2 separate regions of the Homo sapiens genome follow, and region 1 is linked to region 2. Evidence: promoter capture Hi-C in human tissues and cell types (Jung and others, 2019). All regions are on one chromosome and are shown on one strand. The core of a region is centred on a gene start or on the middle of the fragment in contact, and the rest is flanking DNA. Distances in the headings are between cores, read along the strand shown.

Region 1 (2,700 bases), core at 31-2,530, 240 kb after region 2:
CCAGCTCAGTTGCCCAGCTGCCTTCCTGAGCCATGGCCAGGTGGGGATCATCTGCCCTTCTCACCCCATTCTCTCTCTCCTCCTACAGGGGCACAAATCCTTTTGCCACTGTCAAGCTTCGTCCCACCATCACCAATGACCGCTCAGCACCCCTCATCCGCTGAGGCGGGGTCCGAGGTCGTACCCCACAGTGCACCTGCCCAGGGGCTGTTCAGAGCTGGCAATGGCAGCGACAGCAGCAACAGCAGCAGATCCAAGAAGCGGGTCCCTGAGACGGGGGGTGGCTGCCCTCCCCAGACCACCCCGGCAGCCTGAGCAGCTCCAAAGCACTGGCTTGGGGTCCGAGACCTTCAAAGTAAAGCAGGCGGAATGGGGGGACAGGACAATTTCTCCCCCTCCAGGGGCTCCAGGACTCTCCCTGGGGGGCCCACCTCTTGCCCCCTAACCTCTTTCCCCCTTTTCTGCCCCCGTGGGGAGGAGCCCCTTGTACCTGCTCCGTGCCCAACACATGCCCTCTCTGTACATCTTTTGTAAATGATGAGAAATAAAGGAAGTGGACGCAAAGTGATGCGGCAGCAGGACTGGTGGTGTCTTATTTGGGGGACAGGGCAGGGGGTGAGGGATAGAGACTCCCCCATTGGAGAATGGGGTCTAGGGGGTACTGAGGTCCTGGCTGTTCCCCGGGAAGCCATCTCACTCCCAGCCCCTTGTTTGTTTGTTTGGAGAACTCTTTAGGGCTGCCCCAAAGCCCTCGCGCTGCAGCCCCCATCTCCACCTGCTCTCATTTCGACCTGTGGGTTTCCTAGGAAGTAGCGGCTGCTCGGGTCAGGGGAGAGGTGGCAGTGGCCAAGGGCTGGGACCACCAGCAAGCTGCCCTCAGGCGGCCTGGACACAGCACCCTTTGTTTTGGCCCCTCCCCCCCCCACATTCCCAGGCACAGGCGTGGATTAGCTTCATTCTAGAGAAAGCTGCCAGCCCCTCCTGGAATGTGGCCTGGGGCGGGGGGTTGGGGCGGGGGCAGATGAGGCACTGAGGTGATTAGAACCGTTGGGGTCTCTTCAGGGCAGGGCTGTGCCCCCAGCACCAGACTAGGACCCCCTGGGCAAGGTCTCTGTGTCTACCACCCCAGGCTCCAGGAGGCACAGGGATTCTCTTCCTCCCTCCTGGACTGGCTTGGGACAGGGAGCCCACCGCCGAGGCCCAGCCTGGCCTGGGGCTCCCAGTCTCTTCTCCCCTCCTGGACAAAAGCCTCTTAGCAGGGGTGAGGTGTGGTGGGGGCACACACTCTAAGCTCCAGGCCTGGGGCAGGGAGCGTCAGGCGGGAGTCGGCCAGAGGCTCAGCCCAGGCTGGTGGGAAGCTGGGGTGTCTGGCAGCCCCCATCCGGGTAAGCTTCACCGGGAGCTGCGGCGGCGGCCCCTCCCTGCAGGCCTCAGGAGATGTGAGGCTGGACCCCCAAACCCACGAGGCAGGCTCAGGTGAGTGTGATGTGAGGGCTGCCTGGGATCACCCTCCTGTCTCCACCTTCAAGTGGCTGCCCCTGTGACAAGAGGACAACAGGCAGGAAAAGCCACAACCTGGTCCTAGTGGAGGAGGGGCAGAGTCCCGGATACCCTGGGGGTGGTGGCACTGCCCAGTGCCAGGAGGGACACTCCAGGCAGGAGGGCAGGAGGCTATCCCCAGCCCCCGGCTCCTGGTGCACCTGTCTCTGAGTACACCCTCCTCATCTGTTATGGGGGCGCTTGTAACTGCTGTGAGGGCCCCGGGTGGAGCCCCAGGAATGAGACAGGCTTTGGAGCCATTCTTTTCATATAGAGGGTTTGAGGTTTGGAGGGCAGAAGGCCACTCTCTCAGTGCTGCTAAGGTTCCTACCTGTCTGGCAGAAGCCAGAGACCTGACTCCTCTCCCGCAAGATTCCCAGCTGGCCTCGGGGTGATCAATCACCCATCTTACATCGGAGGAAAGGGAGGTTGGGAGAGGGGAGGCGACCGGCCCAAGTCAGGGAGGGAATCCATGGCTGAGCTGAGATGCATGGGAACTCAGCTCCCCTGGCTGATATCTGTTGAAAGTGGCTTTTGTCCCCTTAATGTTCTAATGACAATAGTCATTTGTGATCACTGAGAAACATTAGGAACATGGCGGAAGGCTAAAGAGGAAAATCACGCACAGCGGCCCTTTGCAGCCGGCATCTGCCCCTCTGCTGTTTGTTCTGTTGTCCCGAGACCCTCACGCGTACGGGGCGACTTTGGTGCTGGACGCCCACCTCCAGGCACATACCTGCTCCACTTCCCGACGCCTTCCACCTGAGGCCCTGAGGGGCCAGCAGTTGTCCTTCAGAGGGAGCCTGCAGAGGTGCAGAGTCAGGTGGGACCCGTCGTCCTCCCCTCGTCCTTCAGCGCCCTTTGCAGGAGAAGGAGACTTGGGGTGAGAGTCCTACCTCCGTTTCCCCTTTTGGTTCCCAGACCTGAGCCACCCTCACGTGGGTAGCCCTGTGCCTCAGTTTCCCCATGCTTCGTCTCCATCCCCCTCCTTCTCTAGGCTGCTGGCCCAGCCCCTCCCTCTTGTCCCCGCCCCCTCCCAACAGAGGCAGCGATGGGCGCTGGCGGCCCCCGGCGGGGCGAGGGCCCCCCAGACGGCGGCTGGGGCTGGGTGGTGCTGGGCGCCTGCTTTGTGGTCACCGGCTTCGCCTACGGCTTCCCCAA
Region 2 (2,824 bases), core at 244-2,743:
CCGTCCATTCATTCACTCATCCAGCAAATCTTTGTTAAATACCTCCTATGTGCTGGAATAGATCCTAGATATTGGTGATACAGTGGTGCCCAAAATAGCATTAACTCCTTCCCTTTATGCAGCTTAGACCCCAAAGTAAGGAATGCAGACAAAAAAATAAAAATTCCCTGCAGAGCATGTTAGATAGTGATGTGGAGTTCCCTACAGAGCATGTTAAATAGTGATACAGGCCAGGAGAAAAAGAGACAGGCAGCAGAGGCCCGGCCCGGCCCGGTGGCTCATGCCTGTAATCCCAGCACTTTGGGAGGCCAAGGCGGGTGGACCACCTGAGGTCGGGAGTTCAAGATCAGCCTGACCAACATGGAGAAACCCTGTCTCTACTAAAAATACAAAATTAGCCGGGCGTGGTGGCACATGCCTATAATCCCAACTACTCGGGAGGCTGAGGCAGGAGAATCGCTTGAACCCGAGAGGCGGAGGTTGCAGTGAGCCGAGATCGCGGTGAGCCGAGATCACGCCGAGCCGAGATCGCGCCATTGCACTCCAGCCTGGGCAACAAGAGCAAAACTCTATCTCAAAAAACCAACAACAACAACAACAAAAAAACAGAAACAGACAGCAGAGAAGGGGAAGGCAGTGACCCATGGGGATGGGGTTTTATTATTATTATTATTATTATTTTATTTTTAGTAGAGACAGGGTTTTCCATGTTGTCCAGGCTGGTCTCAAACTCCTAACCTCGTGATCTGCCTGCCTCGGCCTCCCAAAGTGGTGGGATTACAGGCATGAGCCACCGAGCCTGGCCTATTTTTTTTTTTTTTTTGAGATGGAATCTTGCTCTGTCATCCAGGCGGGAGTTCAGTGGCACGATCTCGGCTCACTGCAACCTCTGCCTCCCAGGCTGAAGCAATTCTCCTGCCTCAGCCTCCCAAGTAGCTGGGATTACGGGCGCACATCTCCACTCCTAGCTAATGTTTGTATTTTAGTAGAGATGGGGTTTCACCATGTTGGCCGGCTGGTCTCAAACTCCTGACCTCAAGTGATCCACCTGCCTCGGCCTCCTAACCAAAGTGCTGGGATTACAGGTGTGAGCCACTGTGCCTGGCCTTTATTATTATTATTTTTAAATTATTTATTTATTTTTATTTTTTGAGACACGGTCTCACTCTTTTTTTTTTTTTTTTGAGACAAGGTCTCACTCTGCTGTCCAGGCTGGAGTGCAGTGGTATGATCAAGGGTCACTGCAGTCTCAACCTCCTTGGGCTCCGGTGATTCTCCCACCTCAACCTCCCAAGTAGCTGGGACTACAGGCATGCACCACCACACCCAGCCACCATGCTCAGCTAATTTTTGTATTTTTTGTAGAGAGAGCATTTCGCCATGTTATCCAGGCTGGTCTCAAACTCCTGAGCTCAAGCAACGCCTGCCTCTGCCTCCCAAAGTTCTGGGATTACAGGTGTGAGGCACCGCCTGTGGCCCAGCGCCAGGATTTTAAATTGGGAGACTGGGCCCAGACGTGGTGGCTCACACCTGTAATCCCAGCTTTTTGGGAGGCTGAGGCGGACGGATCACCTGAGGTCAGGAGTTTAAGACCAGCCTGGGTAACATGGTGACACCTCCATCTCTACTAAAAATACAAAAATTAGCCAGGTATGGTGGTGGACGCCTGTAATCCCAGCTACTCTGGAGGCTGAGGCAGGAGAATTGCTTGAACCCGGGAGGCGGAGGTTGCAGTGAGCCGAGATCGGGCCACTGCATTCCAGCCTGGGAGACAGAGCCAGACTCTGTCTCAAAAAATAAATAAATAAATAAACTGGGAGACCAGGAGGGCCTACCTCTGAAGGGGACTTGAGAAAGGTGAGAGGTGAGGGGGGTTGGTGCTCTGCGGGAAGAGCGCACCAGGCAGTGGAAACAGCCCCTGCCAAGGCCCTGAGGCCAGAGGTTCATTCCATGGGAGGCCAGTGAGGCTACAGGGCTGTGAGCAAGAAGAAAACTTACAGGAGCTGAGGTCAGGAGAGCCAGGTGCGGGGAGTGGAGGACAGATCCTGGAGGGCCGTTTTCAGGCCAGCCCTTGATGTTTAGTAAATCTATGAGTCCTTAGTCAAGACTGAGATTCCTGGGGCAGGTACTGAAATCTTTCTGGGTTTATCTGCAGCCATATCGTCATTATCTGGGAATTCCAGGGCTGTCCTTGGGATCCCAGCCCAGTGCTCCTGCGTGCCAAGTGATCTTGAAGGGTCTGAAATAGGGAGCAGGTAAAAAATGTCAGTTTGGGAACACAGTGGCTCACACTTGTAATCACAGCACTTTGGGAGGGCGAGGCAGAAGGGTCACTTGAGCCCAGGAGTTTCAGACCAGTCTGGGCAACACAGTAAGACCCCATCTCTATAAAAAATTTAAAAATTAGCTGGGTGTGGTGGTGCATGCCTGTAGTCCCAGCTACTTGGAAGGCTGAGGCAGGAGGATCGCTTGAGCCCAGGAATTTGAGGCTACAGCGAGGTATGATCCTGCCACTGCACTCCAGCCTGGGTGACAGAATGAGCCTCTAAAAAAAAGACAAAAGCCAGTTTGGAAAGGTGTTGTGAGAGCCACTATTCCTGAACCAATGCAGAGCAGCTGAAACCCAGGGTGGGCCCCTTGGGAGCTGGCAATTCACCCCACACCTATTCTAGCCTGATTTCATCTTCTTGTTGGCTTGCAGAGAAGGTAGCTAGGGGAACTTTGCCACACCCTTGGGTTTTTTGTTTTGTTTTGTTTTTTATTTATTTTTTTGAGACGGAGTCTCGCTCTGTCGCCCAAGCTAGAGTGCAATGGTACGATCTCG

The links. The method cuts DNA at HindIII sites, captures the fragments that hold promoters and counts their contacts. A contact is called where the count stands out against the background at its distance.
Region 1: the fragment with the promoter of SLC16A8 here is called in contact with a fragment that was not itself captured in region 2 in 3 of the 25 tissues and cell types used here (dorsolateral prefrontal cortex, lymphoblastoid cells and spleen).

Annotation. Positions count from the first base shown.
Region 1 is chr22:38,082,764-38,085,463 of GRCh38, reverse strand. It overlaps SLC16A8 (solute carrier family 16 member 8), which reads left to right and starts at 1,280. Exons shown (of 6, transcript NM_013356.3): 1 at 1,280-1,476; 2 at 2,103-2,422; 3 at 2,583-2,700. The coding sequence starts at 2,591. It overlaps BAIAP2L2 (BAR/IMD domain containing adaptor protein 2 like 2), which reads left to right. Exons shown (of 14, transcript NM_025045.6): 14 at 89-564. The coding sequence ends at 164. RefSeq lists an enhancer at 1,015-1,796. The HindIII fragment of the contact is 9,296 bases long and covers 1-2,700 here.
Region 2 is chr22:38,320,309-38,323,132 of GRCh38, reverse strand. All of the region lies in intron 5 of TPTEP2-CSNK1E (TPTEP2-CSNK1E readthrough), which reads left to right. Among named protein-coding and RNA genes, the nearest start is that of CSNK1E, 4.3 kb to the right of the region's middle. RefSeq lists an enhancer at 68-859. The HindIII fragment of the contact is 6,679 bases long and covers 1-2,824 here.